Linked DNA regions of Homo sapiens: all the other regions are linked to region 6. The links are contacts of gene promoters, found by promoter capture Hi-C in human tissues and cell types (Jung and others, 2019). All regions are on one chromosome and are shown on one strand. The core of a region is centred on a gene start or on the middle of the fragment in contact, and the rest is flanking DNA. Distances in the headings are between cores, read along the strand shown.

Region 1 (3,087 bases), core at 28-2,527, 170 kb before region 6:
ACAGGGACATTTACTTCTAATTTACTAGGGGGTGAGGAGGAACACAAACCATCTATAAGATAATGCCTTATGTGTTCTGTTACTGGGGAATAAAAACATGCTGTAAGACCACCAAGGAGGAAAGCCTGGGGAGTGAGGAGAACTCAGGAAGACTTCACAAAGTAGGTGACATTCGAGGTGTGCCTTGTAACATAAACAGGATTTCACCAGACAAAACAGGATGTGGAAAGCAAGTAGAAGAGAAATCCAAGCCATCAGAGTTAGAGGGAAACAAAACAAAACTAATCAATAATTGGGTACAACATTTGAAACTCCGTCTTTCAGGGTAAGCTGCTTTAGTTTCTCTTCTCTGAGTCTTTCCATGTCGAATCTCCATTTCCTTCCTCTATTAAAACTCAATTACTTCTCACCCCTTCCTACATCACAGTTACTCTGTTTGGCTTTAACACACAGCAATTTAGCAGGAGAGTTAGGAAGAGCACATACACAGTTTTTTTTTTCTTTTTTTCTTTTTTTTTTTTTTTTGAGATGCAGTTTCACTTGTTTCCCAGGCTGGAGGGCAATAGCTCGATCTCTGCTCACCACAACTTCCACCTCTCGGGCTCAAGCGATTCTCCTGCCTCAGCCTCCTGAGTAGCTGGGATTACAGGCATGTGCCACCACACCCGGTTAATTTTGTTTGTTTTTGTTTTTGTTTTGTTTGTTTTTAGTAGAGATGGGGTTTCTCCATGTTGGTCAGGCTGGTCTTGAACTCCTGACCTCAGGTGATCTGCCCGGCTCAGCCTCCCAAAGTGCTGGGATTACAGGCGTGAGCCACCACATCCGGCCAACACATACACAGTTTTACAACAAAGATCCATTCGCCAGGAACTTCCATGAAAGGAACAGGACTGTTTGCTGCACTGAGAGTAAATCTGTTTGGGCAGCAACACATGGGTTTGGAGCACCCACATCCTCCTCCCCTTTCTCAAGAAAATGGGGAAAGGAAAAAAAAGGTAGGGAGCAGAAATGGTTTACTAGTTTTGGAAACTCTAGGGAACTGGTTCCATGGAGATTTTTGCAGCCTACCCTTGAAGACTGTACAACTCGGGTGGGAAATGGGGTTAGCTATACAAAAGCTATACCTTACCCAGTTATTGGTTAGTTTTGTTTATTGGCAGCTGCTTTATTTAGGGAAATGAACTTCTATATAAGGCACAACAGGGAGTAAGTAGATCAACAGTGCCAAGGAAAAATAACACCTGGAGGAGGCACTGTGGCTGGTACTACAGAACAGTGACTCCAGCTCTGTAACCAGACAGGAGTCACATTACAGTTGGACTCAACTGCAGATGGGAAAAGCTCATAATCAAACTTCTTTGTCCATGGCAATATTATGGGTAATATCTGTGATGAATTATGAGTTGCTGAGAGCACAAAAGAGTGATCTACATTTATTATGAACCCATTAACTATTTGTGAATAAAGCAGCTGCTGCTACAGGTGACAAACTGCCTCCTACATGGGAAATAATGATTGTAAAGTAGTCAATGCATTGGAAAGAGCACTGGACTAACAGTCTAATCCTAGGTCTATAAGCTTTGTGACAAGTTAATAGTCTTTTGGAGATTCAGTTTACTCACATGTGATATATGGAAATGATAAAATAACTTCCCTGCTTGGCTCAGTTTGGTCCTATTGGGAAGATGAAACAGATGAAGACATGAAAATACTTAGAAATTGTAAAGCAGCTATAAAGGATTTCACTTAGTATAATAAAAGCAGTGAGCTTCACTTACTCCCTTACCCGGAAATAAGCAAAGGCCAAGTGATCCAAGGCATCTTCTAGACTTGCCTCATCCTCTGTCTTCCACTCTCCGTAAGATCCTCGGAAGAGACTGACAGCCTCCTCCAGCCATGGAATGGCATGGTAATAATCCCCCATGTCATAGGCCACCTACACAGAACACAAGTACCATCGCCAAAGCCTTATTCCACAGGTAGAAAAAGAAAATGACAATTCAAAGAATAAGAGGGACTTTGGAATCCAAGAAGGCAGGTTTTAATTTCAAATTCATTTTAATTCAATTTATTAAGCATCTACTATATACAACGCATTGTACTACGTGGAGAGGAGACATAAGGGTTCTTGCACTTAAGGAATTTATAATCTGAAGGAAAAGAGAACATGACCTCAATTAACTCTAATTTGGGACAGAATATCATGAGTGCTCCAAAGAAAATGTATACTATGCTGTGGTGGCACAGGGAAGGGAGGAGACTTGGGAATCTCAGAAAGCTTCATGCAAGAGGTAGCATCTGAGACAGGCCTTCCTTGAAGAAGGAAAAGGATATCAGTGAGCAGAGACTGGGAAGAAAAGCATTTTAAGATGAGGGAATGGCAGCAACAGAAATCTAAAGCAAGAATGTGTTCAAGTAGTCCATCGTGGCTGTAGCTAGGGTGAAGAGAAACAAAAAGTAAACTTGAAACAGCAGCATGGGCTAAGCAAATTACAGTCTTGAATGTCATATTTTTAGGAAGATATTGCTGGTAGCAATGTGAAGAATGGATTACATTCATTCATTCATTCATTTATTCAATATTTACTAAGTATTTTCTATGTGCCTAGTGGCCCTGTCCTGTAAGAGCTTAAATCAAGACGGGGCACATGAGTAAGCCAATAATTGTAACACAATGCATTAGACACCATAATGAAGGTAGACATGGGAACGCTATGGAAGCTCAATGGATCTGTTCTGTATTAAATGCTGGAATGCTGGCAACATGGCAACACGTACCAGACACAGCTCCTGTCTCCTCATAGTTTACAGTTAACTAGAATACCAGAACTGCAAGTGGAATTTCCTGGAAGTTGATATTGGAGACAACATGGAACTGTAAAGTTACAGACTAGGAAGAACTCTTACAAAATGATCTAATTAGGGTGTAACTTCCTGACAGGGAAAAATCCTAGAGATATTGCAATTCTGCAGCCTAAACAATAAATCATTTTTCCTTCAAGTCTGCCATTAACCTGTTGTTTTATTTTTCTGCACCTCAAGTCCTATTTGTAAAAACGTTGAGCTGAAAAATGCTAAAAATGACTG
Region 2 (2,964 bases), core at 41-2,540, 140 kb after region 6:
AATGTTTGTGGATCTGTTAGCTCATTTATCCTTCTAACACAATTGTTGTAATGGAAAGAAACATTAGAGGGCAAAGAGGAGGAATCAGCAAAAATCCTGACTAGGGCACCTTTTTGTACTCAAGGTGTTAACAGTCTAGAGGGGATGCGTCATATGTAAAATAAATAGTTAGAAGGCAGGGTGATATGTGCTGTAATAATAGATATGGGATAAAATTTGTTAGAGCTTGGATGGCAGAAGCTCATTGTCTAGGCATGATGGCTCACTCCTGTAATCCTAGCATTTTGAGAGGCCAAGGCAGGAGGATCACTTGAGCGCAGGGGTTCGAGGTCAGGCTGGGAGATATAACAAAAGCCTGTTTCTACCAGGAAGAAAAAATAATAACCAGGCATGGTAGCATGCACCTGTGGTCCTGTTTACTTAGGAGGCTGAGGAAGGAGGATGGCTTGAGCCCAGGAATTCAAGGTTATAGAGAGCTGCGCCACTGCACTTCAGCCTGGGCGACAGAGTGAGACTCTATCTCTTAAAAAAAAGATGTGCCCTGGTGACCTGATGGTGTTGGGGAAGGGTTCATACTTCATAGAGGAGGTGACAACTGAGCTGCTGTCTTGATGAGAAATTAGGTAGTTGAGGCCTGAGAAGAGCCTTCTAGGCAGAAGGAAGGGCATATACAAAGGAATAAAGAGAATTGTAGAATGTTTCATTAAGGATGAAGATAGTGTAGGTATGATGGGGAATGGTCAGAGATACAGAGCCCAGAACAAGAAGGGTCTTACCTGTCATTGCTAGAGATTTGAAGTTGATCCTTAGGGGATGAGAAGCTACTGAAAGCTTTGTTACACTTTTTTTTTTCTCCTCCCTTTTTGTGGAACATGGGGTCTCGCTATATTGCCCAGTCAGGTCTTGAACTCCTGTGCTCAAGCTATCCTCCTGCTTCTGCCTCCCTGAGAGCTGGGATTACAGGCGTGAGCCACCACACCTGGCGCTACTGAAAGCTTTATAACAAGGAATTATGTTTCAGACAAGACTCTCTAGCAACCTTTTCAACATCAACAGTGACTAATAGGCATTGCAAATTTAATATGCCCCCAAACCTAACTCCTGACTTCTCCCCTCAACACCTGCTTTTCCTGCTTTTCCCCCATCTCAGTGAATTACAGCTTCCTTCTTTGGGTTGCCTAGTCCAGTCATTTTTGACTCTTCTTTCTCTTACACTTCAACACAGTATATCAGCAAATCCTGTTGTTTCTCACTTTAAAATATACCCAGAATTCATCCACTAATTACTACCTGCACTGCTACTGCCCCAAACTGAGCTACCAGTCATCTCTAGGCTGGGTTATTGCAATAGCCTAACTGGTCTTGCTTCCTCCCTTGCCCCTCTACAGTATATCATCCACATAACCTTCTCAGATCCTTCTGAAAGGTGAGATCACATTACCTCTGCTCTCAACTTTCTAATGGCTTCTTAAAGTCCTGTGGTAGCCACAAAGCCCTATGTGCCTGGCACTCTGCCCTCTCTCCCCTACTACCGTCCTTATTCCACTACAGCACACTGGCCTTTCTGTTCCTTGGATCTTGCTGACCTTCCTGCCTCAGAACCTTGGTATTTGCTGGACTCTCTGCCTAGAACATTGTTTCCCAAGATATCCACCTTGCTGGCTCCCTCCCTCCCTGCAGGGCTCTGCTAATGAGGCCTTCCCTAATCACCTTATATAAAATAGCAAAACTTCTCAGGCACCCTCTGTCCTCCTTAACTTACTTAACTTTGTTTCCATAGACTTACTGTCATCTGAGATTATATATTATATGTTTATTGTGTGTCTCCTTTCTAGAATGTAAGCTCTAAGAGTGGACTTTGCTTTATTCACTGTTCTGTCCCTAAGGCGTAGAACATAAAGTAACCACTTGGTAAAGTTTTGTTGATTGAATGACTTGATTTGCATTTTTTAAACTTCACTCTGGCAGCATCATGGATAATGAAGGTGAGGTGGGGAGGAGAAGAGGAATTGATACTTGGAATTGAAATAGTCTAGTCAAGAGATTTGGAGGGCATGGAGTCAAGAATTACTTGGGAAGGAGAGCTGATGAGACTTGGCAACTCATTGGATAGGAAGAAGTGAAGTATAATGACTCCCAGATTTCTGGCTTGCGTGGTTTCAGCAGATGATGTTGTTGTCAGAGATGGATGAAATAAACCGAGGAAAATATGTAGTAGGGTGACTAGCCACCCTGGGTTTGCCCAGGATGGTTGGTTTTGTCACTGAAAGTTCCACATCCCAAGAAACCCCTCAGACCCAGGCAGACAGGAATGGTCAGTCACTCTAATACATAGAGTGAAAAAATAGCTAAAGACAGAATACCAACAGTTAAGGAAAGGGAGGAGGTAGAGAAGTCTCTTCAGAAAGTAAAGCAGAAGCAGTGAGAGGGGTAGCAGAAGACTCAGTGGGGCATGGTTTTATGGAAGCTGAGAGAGCAGGCTCTTCAAGAAGAGAGTGAACAGCAATGTAGGTTGAGCTTCTCTGGGGATTTTTAAATTTCTAGCTATGCTTGGCAGAAGTATATTATAGACAGATTGTAAATGTTTCTCAAAATAAAAGACATGTCTCTTTGTTGTTTTTAAACTAGATTATTGAAGGGAGCCAACTTCTGATACTTGCTGGATCATAGAGTAAAAATGAATTTAGAGATTTTACTAAAAGCAACATTATTTCTGCATTTAGTATTTGGCTATCTCAGGTTAATGAATTATTCTGAATACTGGGCAATGTGAGTAAGCTGTTACATTCTGCAATTCTGAACCGGCATTAAATCTGAGTAATCATAAAATTGGAATTTCAGAGCTGGACATTTGTGATCATATACTTAGTAGTTCTTAATGTTTTGGAGTAATTCACTCTTCAGAATCCATTGAAAACCCTCACACATCTCCCAAAAAAGCACATAAACATTTGCTGAAACTTT
Region 3 (3,315 bases), core at 60-2,559, 150 kb after region 6:
TGCCACCACGCCCAGCTAATTTTTGTATTTTCAGTAGAGACGGGGTTTCACCATGTTGGCCAGGCTGGTCTTGAACTCCTGACCTCATGATCCACCTGCCTTGGCCTCCCAAAGTGCTGGGATTACAGGCGTGAGCCACTGCACCTGGCCTCTTCTTTGTTTTAAAGCATGATTTATTTATTTATTTTGAGACAGCATCTCACTCTGTTCCTAGGCTGGAGTTGAGTGATGAGCTCATGGCTCACTGCAGCCTTGACCTCCTGGATTCAGGTGATCCTCCTACCTCAGCCTCCTGAGTAATCAGGGCTATAGGCATGCGCCACTACACCCAACTAATTTTTGTATTTTTTGTAGAGACAAGGTTTCACCATGTTGCCCAGGCCCATCTTAAATTCCTAGGCTTAAGCGATCCGCCCGCCTCAGGTTCCCAAACCGCTGGGATTACAAGCGTGAGCCAATGCGCCCAACCCTACAGCATGATTTACTCTGGCCAAGAGAGTTGCCAGGAAATTTGTTAATATTTAAAGCTTAGTTTTGATTCAGTCAATATTGCAAATCTAGCCCTATCAGAGGAAGGTCTTTAAAAACAAAGGCTATTTCATTTCCCAAGGATAATGAAATTACTGCATCTTTTATTATTGTTGGTTGCATTCCTACTCTTTTGAATTAGAATACTTTTATCAAAAACAAGAATATTCAATTAGTGGTAGAAGGCACCTAATTCCAATCCTATCTATTACTAACTAGATGTATAACCTAGTAAAAGTGACTCACTTCTCTCTAATATTTGTTTCTTTATGTAATAGAGAGTTTCATACATTTTTCTAAAGTCGATTCTAAACAATATTAGAGTTAAGTATTGTGTGGAAGAAGCAAGAGTTTGAAAATAAAGTTTTATACTGACATTAGTTTTTTTTTTCTTTTTTTGTTGAACCACCCAAGAATGCATATGCTGACATTAACTTAATGTAACATTTCTGTCCCCAGATTTAGTGCTATACAATGTGCAGCTGCCGTCCCTAGAGCTCCTGCTGAATCCTCTTCGTCTTCCAAAAAGTTTGAGCAGTCACATCTTCACATGTCAAGTGAGACACAAGCCAACAATGAGCTGACCACCAATGGTCATGGCCCACCTGCATCCAAGCAGGTTTCCCAGCAGCCCAAAGGAATTATGGGAATGTTTGCCTCCAAAGCTGCTGCTAAAACCCAAGAAACCAACAAGGAAACGAAAACAGAGGCTAAAGAAGTAACAAATGTAAGTCTTCTTTGAAGATACCCCTTCATTGCAGCTCAGAGTGGGTAACTAGAAAAGCATTAATGGTTGCAGTGGTAGTAGTTTATTTATATAAGATTCTGATATTCAGTTCTGATTTTTCTACTTTAGTTTGAACCCTTTAATACTTGATATTGTTATCTGAAAGAGTTCTTTTGCTTTTGATAATGATTCTCACCAAACCTTGGATTTCCTTTGCAAAATGGTAATGCCTACCTTGTGCACATTACAAGATTGTTGTGAAACCCAGATGAAAACATGTGAAAACACCTCGAGAATTGTTGACATTCAAAAAAATGTTTATTTGCAATATGTCTTTCTGAGGAACATCTTATATTCTGGGCTTTGCAACATATACCTTCCTTCCTAGTGTATTTCCCATTCTTATACTTTATGCAGGTTTTTTTGTTTTGTTTTTGCCTTATTTGCTTCTCTTAGATTTTTATTGTTCAGTCATCTGAACTAACTCAAGGGCATTGACTTAAGAAAAGTATCATTAAGATACTATTTTAAAAATCCAGAAAAGCATAATTATTGTTGTTACTATTATTATTATCACTGTCATTTTCCAGTGTCAAGTGTATTTAATTCAGATCACTGTCATTTTCAAGCGTCTGTCTTGGGAAAGAAGAAGGATGGAGGAAAACACTAACGTTTATTGAATTTCAACTGTGTGCCAGTGTCTTTGTTTAAATCCTCTTATCAGTTCTGTGAGGGAGATATTAACTATTTCCCTTTCGCATATGGTAAAACTGAAACCTAGACTTAAGTAATTTGCCTGGAGCCCATATTGCTACTAAATGGTGGGAACCAGGAATTCAGATCTACTTCTGATGATTAAAAATGTAATGTTTTAGGTTTTCCCGCTTTGTGTACATACTGCCTCTGATCTTTTTTAATTCTGTCAAATTAAATAGTTTTTAAATGTGCTCAAGAAAAGTTTAGCTATATCCATGGATAATTAATTTTATAAGATATATAAGAAACTAAGCTTTAGAGATTAACACCAGTTACTGTCTGGTGTGGATTATTGTTCTAGATTTGTTCTTATATCTAACACCTACGCGTTTTGGCATGATTATATAGAGACTATACCATCGCAACAGTTTGCTATAGAAGAGTTTGTTTGAGACTGCTACTTCATGAACAGCCTAAATGCCAGCAAAAAATCATATGTGTTTTCTGTGCTTGTAGGCATCTGCAGCAGGCAACAAGGCACCAGGGAAAGGGAATATGATGAGCAACTTTTTTGGAAAAGCTGCTATGAGTAAGCATGTTCTTACCTCACTTTGACTAACGAATGAATGTTAATGTAATGACATATTATACCTGAAGTGAAAGCCACTTTGTCTAGTTTTTGCCAATCCAAGAGACTACCTGCATTCTAACAAATTTCCAGTGTACTGCCCAATATATTGATGAAAGTAACTCAGCTAGAACTTTATGGGTGAGTTAGGCTCAGTTGAGATCTCTTTGAGAGCAGTTTATTATTCCTGGTTTAACTTCCTGCCTTGAAAAGATAATGAACTATTTGCTTCATAGGGCCCTTGAAAATGGGTGATTAAAATAAAAGGGAGGCTGCCTGGCTACGCAGTATAGTGTTGAGGTTAATAACGTGGATGCTAGAGTCAGTTTGCCTGGTGTGACCTTTATTTCTTCTATCTCTCAAGGGTCCACAAAAGCAAATATTTTGCCTTTCTTCAGTTATTTTTTGCAGATTACTCACAGTAATGAATTAGACTTCCAGTGTGAATTAGAAGGGCCCAAGTAGTAATGGACATTTAAAAATCTTTTTTGAGAAAGCAAAAATCTTCTTTATTTTTAAAAAGATACTTAAGTAAGAATTCTTTCGTATGGAAAGAACCAGTAGTCACATATTTTCATACTTCTCATATCAAGTGTACATCCCCTGAGAGTATGTGGTAGAATACCAGGAAGAATGCAGGAGCCACAGGATAATTATGGCACACTTTCTTGGAGCATCAGTTTTACAAAGATTTTTCAAGGAGGCATTTTGTTACATGCCTATGCAAGCAAAATTA
Region 4 (3,230 bases), core at 1-2,500, 130 kb before region 6:
CCTTCATCATGCCCCTCTGCTTTAGGGTTACGCTAGTGGAAAAATTTGAGCAGCAAACTCTAGGTATGTCACTTTGTCCCTATTTGGTCACTCTACACATTCTTATAGGTTCTCTTTTATAAGTACATAGTCTTGAATAAACAAAGAGGAAAGATGGTCTAATAAATATATAGTATGGTGAATACTTTAAGGTAACCAGTAGTCAACACTAACTTTGTTTCCAACTAGAATTAAATTCATGCTGTGCAAGGAGTCAGACAATGAGCAATTCTCATCTTACTATTTATACCTCTATGGCTTAGGGTAAGATGCTCTGAGGGACAAATGTGAATAAGATTTCCTTAGATCTTGTGCTTTGGCTCCCCAAGTACAAGGAAACCTGAAATAGAATGTTATGTCAATTGCCCATTCATTTTGGTTAGTACGACTCTTTCCTCATCAGTTTCTAGAACAATCTCAGATGACAAGTGAATTGTAAAAGGCCGTAATAAATTAACATATAGCAGTATGCAGACAGATCAAAACAGGTTATGAAATAGATTTAAAATTACTTCCTACAATAAGTCTTAAATATAATGACAACATTAACAAAATAACCAAAGGTCCATAGGCAAATGTAGTTTATGACTAAGCTTAAAGCATTCTGAATGAATACAGTTGAGATTTCTTATCAGTGAGGTAACAGGGCAATAGTCCTTCACAGTAACAAAATGTGCAAGGGTGCCTAGGAAAAGTGGGAGGTAGAGAGAAAAAGGCATAAAATTAAATGTATCCAAGTGAAGTTTGGATTTTTCAAGCATCACAAATATCAATGGAAAATGTGGAAAAAAGTACTGATAGCAGCAGCTCATAGAACAACTTATCCATTAAACTACAGCTAATATCCCTGTTGCATCAATTCCAGAAGCAACTTGCTTAAGAAATGGGAGGTCTATTTCCTATATAAAGACATTCCAAAGTATCCAATCTCTTAGAACCTCTCCATCTGCTAACGTATCTACATCAAAATAACAACATATATATTCAAAACGAAAACCTCAAATAACCTAAGCCACTATACATTCTTCAAGATGAACAAAATTTTGTTCAAGTCTCACTTAATTTGCCAGGTTAAATTAAAAATAACAGTGAAGCAGGAAAATTATTCATTGCACTTATGCATCAGTTACTCAAAACACACAAAAATTGTTTTGTGAGCTAAATTCTTCTAGATATGGAGTGAAACCCAAATGTTACTTTTAGTGCCCTTTATGACATTTTTGTTCTAACCTGAGTTTTTAAAAAAAATGTGCTGGAAAGAAGGACCCTTAAAAAGTCATCTGTATATCTCTTAATTTTTAAAATTTTTATTCCCTTAAAAATAAAAAAAAGATTTTGAATAGAAGATATTATGAAGATTTCTCAAGAAGTTCCTAAATCTTAAACTTTCCATGCTGTCTTTAAAAAAAAGATCCTTATTCCCTCTGGTTCTGTCTTCACTAGAGATGGAGAACACTATGGCATAGTATTTCTTACTTTGAACCCTTCAATAAAAGACTCAATAAAGCTTTATTAGCAAACTTAGCAAACTATCTCAACAGCTTTCTCCTCTCCAGAGTCAAACAATCTTTATTCCTTGAACTTTTTCTCAGAAGTCTTATTTTCTAATCTACATTTTCTTCCTTTTTATTTCTGCTCTACCTCTTCCTGAGTTCTCACATGATTCTGATACAACATCCTAGCAGGAACTGAATCCGTAAAAGGGATACTTTTTCTCACCTCCTAAACCTTGGCCTCATTTTAGTGATCACAATAAAGGAAAATGGTAGGTGCATACTCATCATAACAACAAATAAACACAAGTAAACAGGTGGGACACAGTTTATTCCCTACTGTTATGGTGTTACATTTGCCCTTCACGAGAAGCATTTCCCGTGTCTCTTTATATTGTTTGCTTATTTCTACTGTTTATTTCCAATGTATGCTTTGATCTTGCCCTACTAATTCTCTCCTTTTCTCCAAAGCTTTAGAAAATTCCAGTTTTGACTTTCATGCTCAATGAGAATGCAATCATTTTCACAATATTGTTCAAAAAGAAAAAGATAAACATTGTAGTGCCCGAGGCTGAGACCTCCTAGCCAGCACTTCTGTCTCTCCTGACCAGCTTGGGCTATCACTGAATTTATCCTGTTAGGCAAATGTGCACCTACTACATCAAGTTCATGTTAAGTATCATGCTCAGACAGACTCATGACAGGCTAGAATAAAATAATTCCCTCAATCGATACACTTCAGGAACATTTGTAAAATTTTGTTAACTTGAGAGAAGAACACTTCAATAACTTTTCACCTTAAGATGACTTAAATGTTGCATTATATTAAAGCACTCAAATAAAACTGTTTTCTTCATAATAGAATGACAGTCATGACATGGCTTTAGTAACTATGAATGAGCCGTTGATTCATTTTAGCTTCATTTTTGTTTATCAGTCACTGAAACACAGAACTAAACCAAATATACCTGTTTTTCATATATACAACATTATACCACTTTGCAGAATATATGCCATTTCCTAAATTACAATCTACATTCTTAAAAGCATATAAAACAAAAGATGTTTTACACATTTTAAAAATAAAACAAAAATTCTACACATATCTTCTCCAGTGCAAAGCCTTTGAAAACAAACTCATTGAGAAAAATGGTGCTCTACATTTAGCTAGCTGTCTATTATCTACAGTCATACAGTCATATAAGATCCAACAATAAGAAAGTAAGGAAGGAACAAATTAACAATAGTGGCAATACAATAGTTGGACAATTAGGTTTGGATTATATGAGCTCAACCAAATGTTAGCTGACAGCTGCAACAAACGAAACCATGATTTAAGGAACATTCTAATCAGTTCAAACTTTATATTATTATTTTATATGAAATAAATTCTCTAATTACAGTGCTATCTCCCATAAGCAATTTGTTTAGGTCTTGTTATTGTTATCTCCTAACTATACCCCATATGTATTCTGAGAACTATGTAGGACAAGATACATTTTAAGAAGATTAAACACAGCATTTCTTTTTCTCTCTCTCTCTCTTTTTTTTTTTTTTTTTGAGATAAGGTCTCACTCTGTCATCCAGGCTTCAGTGCGGCAGTGTGATCATAGTTCTGTAACTTAAACTCCTGGCCTCAAGCAATCCTCCTGCCTCAGCCTCCCAAAGCGCTGGTATTACAGATGTGAGCCACCAAGC
Region 5 (3,143 bases), core at 361-2,860, 200 kb before region 6:
TGGAGTCAGGATTTGAGCTGAGCTGGTGCCATGTGACTACAAAGTCCCTGCTCATAACCATCATGCTACACATTTGGAAATTTAGGTCATATCCAAATGTTTACTATTATAAACAACACTGCACTGAACAACTTAATGAAAAAAAATCATTTTGCATTTTGGATTGTTTTCATAGGAAAGAGTCTTGGCACTAGTATTATGGGGTCAAAAGGACATGCATAAGTTTCATACTTCTTATACATTTTGCTAAATTATTTTTTCAGCAGTTGCATCACACAAGAGTGCCAGTTTTACCTCACGCTGCCTAGCATTATCTACCAGAAGGTTCATGCTCTGTAATCTTATGGCAGTCAGATCCCGGTACATTTACTTGTGTTACAGAGCAAGAGGTATAGGAGGTAGGACGCTGGCCCTTGGTAGATGCAAGTGAACTGACATGGTGATTTGGAACCTGGAAATGGCAGTGGTGACTATTAGCATTCCTTGGCTCTCCCTGTAGCACACTGGGAAAGCCGATGAGAACAACAATTGGCTCCTTGTGTTCAGGTAACAAATTAGATTATTCTATTCTAGCCCTTGTCAGTAAGGGGCAACCTGGACTTTCCTGCATTCTTTTACCTGTGGTTTTACAATATGGTGGAAAGGAATGACATAGCCAACACATTAAAAAGAAAATCGGATTCTGCATGCAATGAAGCTCATGAGCACGGCATGGGCTGTAAGAACAGTGGGAAAGGGAGAGAAATCTTCCGTCTGTATACCTTCTACTATTTTGTACTGGGGCTGATCTTTTTTTTTTAATAGAGACAGGGTCTCACTATGTTACCCAGGCTGGACTCGAACTGCTGGGCTCAAGCGATCTTCTTGCTTGAGCCTGCCAAGTAGCGGGGACTACAGGTGCACACCACCGCACCCAGATTGGGACTGATCTTATGTCCAATCTGAGCAGAAAATCACCAACTGGACTTCAACTCAATCCTCTGTACTTCTTAAAGATTATTTTCTCCCTATAAAATCAGTCTTAGGTTTCCCACAAACCTTAACATTTGTCTTGAGAAATGTTTGTCTTGAAATTGTCTCGAGAAATCCCAACCTGAAGATGAAAGACTTGGGCATAATCTAGCACTTCCCTGGTCCCATGATACTGATTCCCCTTTATGATACCCTTTCCTTTAATTGCTCTGTGGGATACAATGACAGAAACATACAGTATGGAACTTTCCAGAGTGACATCCCTCCTTACATTATCTCATCAGACCCTCACAACAACACTGTGAGGAAGCACAGGGCAAAAAGTGAGCTCACATAATAGATGTAATCTGTGCTGAGGCCACATAGTAAGTGGCAAAATCAGGATTAGGTCAACTGACTCCAAATCCAAAGTGTATTCCATTCCACTCTGTCTCAAATACTTAAAACCCAAATGCACATGCATGCACACACATGTGAAAGTGCATGAGAGTGCATGCACACACATACACACACACACACACACACACATGCATTTGCCATTTAAAATTACTGGGCTCTTATACCCACGCTACCTTCGCTATAGTAACTGGGGCCCTGTAACCAGGGAACCAGCCATAGGAGATATTGAGGGGATAAAGAACAGAGATATATTGTGCCCTAGATGCCCTGTTTTTTGGCAGCAGTTCATTCTTTCGCCGTTTGTGACCTCCCATAACAGCTGGAGTGGTCAACCAGAGATGCAACCAACTGCAGCTCCAAGATGTGTCCCCTGCCTGATAGCTGACCTCAGAATGATCAGAATGAGGCCAGACACCATTGTAAGTGGAAGCCTTCCAGTTCCATAGGAAGTACAGAACTGAGCCACATAGAGAAACACACTGGAATTGCTGGCATTAAAGACTACACAGAATGCTGGCCTCTGACTGCCCTTTCTTGGCTGTCCTGTGGAGACCAGAGACAGTCCTAATAGAAGAGGAAAAGCTGGGGTGAGGGATGTCTGCTATTCTAATGAGGCTGAAACAAGGACTTCATCTTTGGTTGTTATATAGAACCCTTATATATGTTTGTCCCTTCAGTTAACAGTAAGGTATCTCTTCTAATAAGTGATTAATTCTAATATTCTCTTCCAGTGACAGGTGATTGGAAGCTTGTCCATAGAGACGAAAGTAAACCCACATGATCTGAAGGGAAGGGGACAGGTGAGATGATACAGACTGGGGCCGAATCCTGATCAGGCCAGGAATTAGGAGAGAAGTACAATTTATTGGTTTATCTTGAAAGGGGAGTCATGGAGATTTTACTGAAGATTTTATAGAGAGATAAGGAAGAGAATTTTCACTAAACATCAGAGGCAGCACTTGCTGAATTTCTCTCAGTGTCTCTGTTCTTCCCTCTTGTAAATCTGCTGCCTCATTCCTCATCCATCTCCCTCCCCACAGCCCCACAACCTCATCTATGGGTTGTTTTTCAACACTGATTAGTCCATGAGACCTCAAGGACACAGATTCTCAGATCCTCCTCCTGTGTTGTTCAAGTCCCTCTATCTCTTGGCCTTCAGTGGAGCTCCACTTCCCATCCTAATCCACTGCCCATACCAAGGTCATATTTAGATTTACACACTGTCAGCCTCTTTCAGGGTAGAAACCTTGTCTTGTATTTCTTTACATCTCCTACAGTGCCTATCAAAAATGCTGTCTGAAATTCGCAAAATTCCTGGAGATTTTTGCGCTGAGTACCAGATAAAATCAATACGTGAAATTGCTTTGAAAACAATAAAATAAAGTAGAGCTATAGTCAGTCATGAAGTAAGAAGCCCAGAGCAATACTCACATAGATCATAAATGTTGCAACTCGGTTTCCTGACTTCATTCTGTAGAGGGGGCTGCTTGGTGACTGAGAAAAAAAAAAACAGAACATATTATTTTATGCAGATGGCACCAGAGGGACAGGCAGGATTCCACTATTAATACAAATAGAAGTAAAATGGGGGCATCAAAGATGGGATATAGTTCTGATATACACCTACTGGAGTATGTGCCCGTCTTTGCTGGCAGGTACTCAATACAATTTTTTTTTTTACTAATTTATTAGATACTTATATAAAAGAATTGTCTACTACCAAACAGAACTACTTGTCAGTAGTGAAAGTACTATATGAGGGGTTAATTGCA
Region 6 (3,165 bases), core at 476-2,975:
CAAGATAATTATCAGGCAGGCTGGTCACACTGTTTTCCTTTTCTGTCTCCACATCTTTCCTTTCCCCCCATATTACCAAGAACAACCATCTCTGTGTCTCCTTTCCCACTCCAGGTCTCCTAGCCTCAGAAGCAGCCAGGAGGTTCTTATTATTCTTCTTGATTCCCAGGAACCTCACCTTCTCCAGAAGCCTTCCTGTTTCCTACCCTCTATGATCATTCCCGCAGTCCCTTATCATTGAGGGGTACCATTCTGTAGTCCTGTAGCTGGTGGAGAACACATCAGAGGGGGAATCAGGAGACCTGGGTTCCTGCCCCTACTAGGCCAACACGTCTAGCCGTGCGTTTTGGTTAAGTAACTTTATCACTCTAAGTCTATATCCCTCTAGGCCTCATTTTCCTCATCAGTAAGATGGAGTTTCTTGTCTTGCTTCCCTCTTAGAAGGTATTTTGAGCACTCGCACATTAAGTTTATGGATGTGCTTTGAGACGTATAGACTGAGTGAGGGATGGAGAAGGTGATGGTTATCATCTCAAGGAGTCAAGAAAATCTGAAAGCAGCTTCTAGGCCCCCAGCATGGGTCTTCCTCCATCAGGAACAGACAAAGTGGACGGATGCAAGGAAATAAGGAGGAGCTCACACGTTTACAACATGCCTTTGTAGGTGAAGTGGAGAGAGCCCTGGGCTAGGACTGAGGAAACTTGGGTTCTAATTCTGTTTGGTCTCTGTTGTAACCTTAGGTAAATCATCTCCCCTGGGGCATCAGTTTCCCTATATGCAAATTAGTGGAGAGGATTTTAGGAGGGATACTCTGGTGGGCTTTCACGCAAGAACTAAACTCATTTATTTTCGAGATAAGAGACTCTGAGGTCCAATCCCCCTTTCCCCTTCTGTCCCATGGGGTATGCAGGCAACAGGAGCAGGAGGCCCGTTTTACAAATGGTGGCCCAGGAAAAGCGAGCACAAGGCGCAGAGCTGAGGGATGACTGCCCGGGTTTACACAGCCTGTAAACTAGAACTCAAGTCTCCCGACTCCCAGCCTCGACCTATGTTACTGGCAGCAGAAGATGCTTTTGGGAGTCACCAGGTTTCCCGGGACTAGGTCAGACAGGGTGAAGGACACAGTGAGGTGTAGAGGGAATGGGCAAGTCAGCTCCGCAGAGCCGGTGGCTCCAGCCAAATGAGACTGTGCTGGGTCCTGAAATGTCGTTTCTGCGTGTGCACTGGCTGCCAGCTGCAAGTGTTCGCTTGCACGTCTGTGGGTGTGGAGGAACTTTTCTTGTGGCCGTCTTGAGGGCTGGGAATAACGGCGCAAGTCCCCACGGTTTCCAGACGGGGCGCGCAGAGCCCAGCTCCCTACTCCCACATGCTGCTCCACGATCACTGCGCTCGGGAGGATCGGGGAGGATCCGGGAGGACTAGCTTGGTATTTGCAGCGCCCACCCCTCCCCCACTCCCCCTCGGTTCCACAGTCTCACGGAGAGCGCGCCGTGGCCCTTGGAAGGGAGGCGGGAAGACCCCTCATTTCCACCCCAGGCCGCAGCTCAGCCTTCCCAGCTGGGTGGGTGCCTTACCTGCCTCTCAGCAAGGCTCCGGGGCGCCCGTTTGCTCGCTGGACACGGCGCCCTCTGACCGAGGGTGGCCCAAGCGCTGCGACCCTGTGCATTCCACCAGCCCCGTTCCACTCCGCGGGTGCCCAGCACCGCCCAGCGCGCTCTCTGGCTCTGGGCTCCCACCCGCGCTCGGCTCCCTTTTCCCTCCCCCGGGCGTCCCCTCCCCCTGCCCCGCCCGGGCCCCAGCACACCCACTTCTCCCCGGGCTGGCCTGGAGTGCCTCCGCCCAGCTCCTTGGCCTCCCCCGGCTGTGGGCTCCGACCCTTCCGTCCCCTGCAGCGCCTGCTTCCTGGACCAGAGACCGAAAGCCTCTCGCTCCGCTGGGCCTCAGCAAGCCCAGCATGAGGCCGATCTCCAGGAGTCGGTTTTGCTCCAGTGTGGCTGTGTGGTGGTGGGCGAGTCGCTGCCCCTCACTGGGCCTTGGCCTGGCTGTAAAGTTGGTACAGTTCCTCCATGCATTCTTCACAGGCTTATGGTTGAGGTCAGATGAGACCTTTGAGTCCAAAGTATTAAAACCAAAGGGTCAACAGCAAAATAATATGATTCTTACACAAACTCTTTTCCACACAGGACGCAGAGGCCCAGTTGGAGAAGGGATTTGCCCAGGTAGCAGAGCCCAGACCCAAAATCCACTACACACCCCTCTGTCTCTGAGTAGCACCAGCAAATGTTTCCTCCACCAAGCCTCAAAAGTTCGTGACAGTGCCTGACCAACTTGTGTTCAGCCGCACCTTACTCATCTCTGTCCCAGAACAGTTTATTTTCCCACCACCATGCCCTCACTCAAACTGTTGTTTCCTTGCTGGTGACATTGCAGGCTTCAGAGAACTGGGGCAGCCGGGGCAGCTGAGGAATAAGAGCCAGGAGGCTAGTGGCAGAGGAAGGGACAGTTGCAGAGAATTTCTCCGGGGGACCCTGTGGGGTGCCCTTTTACCAGCTCACTGCCTCAGAATAATTAATAACAGCCTCAGGCCAGCTCTTTCACTCCCTTGCAAAGGTCTGCTCCAGGATATCTGAAGCACATACTCTCAATTACAGAATCCCAGAATATATCTAAGAAGTGCTATCGTTTTAAAAAGACCTACTACAAGGTGGGTATATTGTATATTGTATACAATATACAAGGTGGGTATATTGTACCCACCTTGTTTTGACCCTACTATTCCTTTTTCTCAGTCTGGAGATCACCTCTCAGAAAAGTCATCCTAATCACCTAAGCATGCAATCTCAGTTTCCTTCCTTCCTTCCTTTCTTTCTTCCTTCCTTCCTTCCTTCCTTCCTTCCTTCCTTCCTTTAGACAGGATCTCACTGTGTCACCCAGGCTGGAGTGCAGTGGAGTGATTATGGCTCACAGCAGCCTTGAACTCCTGGGCTCAGGTGATCCTCCTCCCTTAACCTCCTGAGTAACTGGGACACACCACTATGTCTGGCTAATTTTTGTATTTTATAGAAATTGGGTTACTCCATGTTGCCCAGGCTGATCTCGAACTCCTGGGCTCAAGTGACCTGCACACCTCCACCTCCCAAAGTTCTGGGATTACAGGCATGAACC
Region 7 (3,274 bases), core at 367-2,866, 230 kb before region 6:
GAACTTGATATTGATAGGAAAAAGATCCAAGACTGAGTCTTGGGATATTCCACAATATTTAGAGCTTGGGAAGAAGAGGAAGATCCAACAAAGAAACTGAAAAGGCACAGTTGATGAGATAAAAGGAAAACCAGGTGAGTATATTAAGTGTTTGTAGAAGGAGGGAGAGAATAACTGTGTCGGATGCTGCAGAGAGATCAAGTAAGATGAGGACCAAGAAATGACCATTGGAATTGGCATGATAGAGGTGACCTTGACAAAATAAATATCTGAAAATAAATGGGATATAAAAATCATATATAAGTTGGGGAAAGGATGAGAGGTGACAAAGTAGAGAAAGCAAGATAACTCTTTTGAGGAGCTTTGCTGTATAGGAGAGCAGAGAAATGGAGTAATAGGTAGTAGTGAATGTGGCATTGGGAATGTTTTTAAAGGCTGGATAATGGAGTATGCTTGTGACATCCACGAGAGAAAAAAAGTGACACAGAAGAGAGACAGGATAACTGAAAGAAAGAGTATCTTTTCAGAAGCAAGAGGGGATGGGAACTAGTGCCCAAGGTTGGCCTTGATAGGAATAGATATTTCATGTATTAAACAGGCATCAAGGCAGAGTATATTATTACAAGTATTGGTGAATTTGTGGATTCATTTGGTAGTTAAAAGATGAGGTAATAGTTCTGATTGCCTCGGTTTACCATTAAAGTAAGAAATCATGTCATTATCTGAGGAGAGGGGCTTTAAAATTTTGAATGATTTTTTAAACTAAGAAATGAGATTTAAAGAAGTGCTTTCTCCTAGTGGCTTGCTTCAGGCAGTGTTTCCAGTTCACCCTGGGAATGCAGTCATTTTGCTCTGCCTTAGTTGTACTTAGGTGGACAAATGTGAGAAGACTAATTTATTCAGATAGCCTAAGCCCTGTAGCACGGCACACAAGGCCCTGGAGAAGCTGGCGCCTGCCTTCCAATCCTATTCTGTCACGCTCCCCTTTTATCTCCTCCCTGCTTCTCCTTGCACCCAGTTCTCTAAAATCATTATCCTGCCGACTTTCACATCACAGCACCTTTGTACATAATGTGCCCTCTGCCTAGAATGCTCTAACCAACCTCTTTTATTTTCTGGTTAAACTTGTTATCTATACTCCTCAGTTTAGCTGTGACCTCTGGGGAGCTTTCTCTGACCTCCTCATTCATGTTCAAGTGCTTTCTTTGAACCTTGCCTCATTATATTAACATTATATGTGTCTTTTTCTCCCTACCGAATTATGTGCTTTTTGAATACAGGCCTGGCACCTAGTATCCTCTTGATAAATATCTGCAGAACTGAAATGGCTATGATGTTTTTACTTAATTTTTACTTATAAAACCATGTAGCCAGGTGAGTAATAGTGGCAATCTCTATAGTAAGAAACACTGGTGATCACTACTTTTTATTAGGTCTCACATAATCTGTAGAATTATTTATTTGATTCCAATGATGTGATACAATAGATACTGAATAACCTTCTCTCTTCCTTTCTTTTCTTTCCCAGTGTGAAGAGTGGCCAGATTCGAAATCTGGAGTCTGCCCGTGTCTCAATGGTTGGCCAAGTCAAACAGTAGGTCTTACTCTTCCCCCTTGGTCTGGTTAGAGGCGGAAACATGGTGAGGGAATTACAGATTGCTTCTTTTGTCTTACACCAATTCTACCATTCCGGTAAATGCCTTTATTATTTTAAATAATTTTAAAGGTGAGTTCAGTTGGGACAGACATAGATTTTCTTTCGCCTGCCTTCCTTTCTCTCCTTCCTTTCCTTCCCTTTCTTTTTTTTCCTCCTCATTTAATACTGGATTACCTTAGCAAAACTCTGCGTGTTAAAAAGCAAATCCCAGAGCATAGACATTACAAATTATGTTAACCTTAGTGATAGCAGCTGAGTTTCATTCTAGTAACAGTCTCCTTCTAAGCCAAACCTGGCTGTGAGGGAATTATAATAAAAAAGCTCTGGCATAGCCTGAGTGAAAGCCAGATTCTAAGAGTGAGCTAAGATTATTTAGCCCAATTGATCTTTCCTGATAGAATTACATGGCATTCTGGGTATTGCTGTATAGTCACAAAATAAACTTTAGATGAATTGAGAAAATGTTGCCCAACAGAACAGACAGAAGTTAGATGAAAATGATAATGGCTTTGAGTGCTTACTATTTGCCAGGCACTGTGCAAGGTATTTTATATGCACTGTCTCATTTTTAAAACCTTATATTATGGAAAAATTTTGCACATATAAAAGAAGAGTGATACAGTGGATGGACCCCAGTGTTCCCATTGTCCATTTTCAATGGTTATTAACCCATAACCATGTCTCATTTGTTTCATCTGTGCCCCTATGTATTTCCCCTAGTCACAAAATATTTTGAAGCAAATTCCAAACAAATATAATTTCCTCTGCAAGATTTTCATATGATCTAAAAATAAGGGCTCTTTAAACATCATCACGATGACATTATTACACGTAAAAAAATTGGCAATTCTTTAATATCATCAAATATCTAATCAATATTTACATTTCTGATTGTCTCATAAATAATTTTTTACAATTAAAGTCAAAATCAAAATAAGTAGATAGCAATTGGTTGATCCACCTCTCATGCATCTTTTAATCTAAGGTTCCACTTCTGTCTCCCTCTTTTTTTTGATTCCTTGCAATTTATTTCTTGAGGAAACCTTGTTTGCCCCATAGAATTTCCCATGATCTGGATTTGCTGATTGAATTCTCAGGCCATAATTTAACATATTCCTTTGTTCCTTATATTCTGTGTAAATAGTTAAATCTAGAAGCTTCATCGGGTTCAGGTGTTTTGTTTGCAAGAATACTTGATAGGTGATGTTGCGTACTGCCATCAGGAAGTACATAATGTCTGGTTGTCTTTTTTTTTTTTTTTTTTGAGACAGAGTCTCACTCTGTCGCCCAGGCTGGAGTGCAGTGGCGCGATCTCAGCTCACTGCAACCTCTGCCTCCCAGGTTCAAGCAATTCTCCTGCCTCAGCCTCCTGAGTAGCTGGGACTACAGGCATGTGCCACCATGCCCGGCTAATTTTTTATATTTTTAGTAGAGGTGGGGTTTCACTGTGTTAGCCAGGATGGTCTCTATCTCCTGACCTCATGATCCGCCCACCTCGGCCTCTCAAAGTGCTGGGATTACAGACGTGAGCCACCATGCCCAGCCAATTGTCTCTTTTTTTTTAATGTCAGGAGCCGTTGATGTTTATTACCTAGATTCATTAATTCATTTGCACTA

Evidence for each region. Contacts are between HindIII fragments. The study calls those that stand out against the background at their distance.
Region 1: a fragment that was not itself captured here is called in contact with the fragment with the promoter of KCNE3 in region 6 in 3 of the 25 tissues and cell types used here (IMR-90 fibroblasts, dorsolateral prefrontal cortex and mesenchymal stem cells).
Region 2: a fragment that was not itself captured here is called in contact with the fragment with the promoter of KCNE3 in region 6 in 1 of the 25 tissues and cell types used here (heart right ventricle).
Region 3: a contact is called between a fragment that was not itself captured here and the fragment with the promoter of KCNE3 in region 6, in 3 of the 25 tissues and cell types used here (H1 embryonic stem cells, bladder and thymus).
Region 4: a contact is called between a fragment that was not itself captured here and the fragment with the promoter of KCNE3 in region 6, in 2 of the 25 tissues and cell types used here (dorsolateral prefrontal cortex and liver).
Region 5: a fragment that was not itself captured here is called in contact with the fragment with the promoter of KCNE3 in region 6 in 6 of the 25 tissues and cell types used here (IMR-90 fibroblasts, aorta, dorsolateral prefrontal cortex and 3 more).
Region 7: a fragment that was not itself captured here is called in contact with the fragment with the promoter of KCNE3 in region 6 in 2 of the 25 tissues and cell types used here (IMR-90 fibroblasts and aorta).

The regions. Positions count from the first base shown.
Region 1 is chr11:74,296,426-74,299,512 of GRCh38, forward strand. P4HA3 (prolyl 4-hydroxylase subunit alpha 3) reads right to left here. Exons shown (of 13, transcript NM_182904.5): 4 at 1,787-1,936. Among named protein-coding and RNA genes, the nearest start is that of P4HA3-AS1, 13 kb to the right of the region's middle. The HindIII fragment of the contact is 3,038 bases long and covers 1-2,796 here.
Region 2 is chr11:74,601,259-74,604,222 of GRCh38, forward strand. All of the region lies in intron 2 of POLD3 (DNA polymerase delta 3, accessory subunit), which reads left to right. Among named protein-coding and RNA genes, the nearest start is that of POLD3, 10 kb to the left of the region's middle. The HindIII fragment of the contact is 5,133 bases long and covers 1-2,964 here.
Region 3 is chr11:74,617,550-74,620,864 of GRCh38, forward strand. It overlaps POLD3 (DNA polymerase delta 3, accessory subunit), which reads left to right. Exons shown (of 12, transcript NM_006591.3): 6 at 988-1,255; 7 at 2,468-2,540. Among named protein-coding and RNA genes, the nearest start is that of POLD3, 27 kb to the left of the region's middle. The HindIII fragment of the contact is 4,717 bases long and covers 1-3,315 here.
Region 4 is chr11:74,331,833-74,335,062 of GRCh38, forward strand. PGM2L1 (phosphoglucomutase 2 like 1) reads right to left here. Exons shown (of 14, transcript NM_173582.6): 14 at 1-3,230. All of the region lies in intron 2 of LOC112268078 (a long non-coding RNA gene), which reads left to right. Among named protein-coding and RNA genes, the nearest start is that of P4HA3, 22 kb to the left of the region's middle. The HindIII fragment of the contact is 3,435 bases long and covers 1-2,968 here.
Region 5 is chr11:74,270,743-74,273,885 of GRCh38, forward strand. P4HA3 (prolyl 4-hydroxylase subunit alpha 3) reads right to left here. Exons shown (of 13, transcript NM_182904.5): 10 at 2,803-2,865. Among named protein-coding and RNA genes, the nearest start is that of P4HA3-AS1, 39 kb to the right of the region's middle. The HindIII fragment of the contact is 5,625 bases long and covers 1-3,143 here.
Region 6 is chr11:74,465,824-74,468,988 of GRCh38, forward strand. KCNE3 (potassium voltage-gated channel subfamily E regulatory subunit 3) reads right to left here and starts at 1,726. Exons shown (of 3, transcript NM_005472.5): 1 at 1,575-1,726. The HindIII fragment of the contact is 14,037 bases long and covers 1-3,165 here.
Region 7 is chr11:74,234,373-74,237,646 of GRCh38, forward strand. It overlaps PPME1 (protein phosphatase methylesterase 1), which reads left to right. Exons shown (of 14, transcript NM_016147.3): 8 at 1,529-1,594. Among named protein-coding and RNA genes, the nearest start is that of PPME1, 65 kb to the left of the region's middle. The HindIII fragment of the contact is 5,319 bases long and covers 1-3,274 here.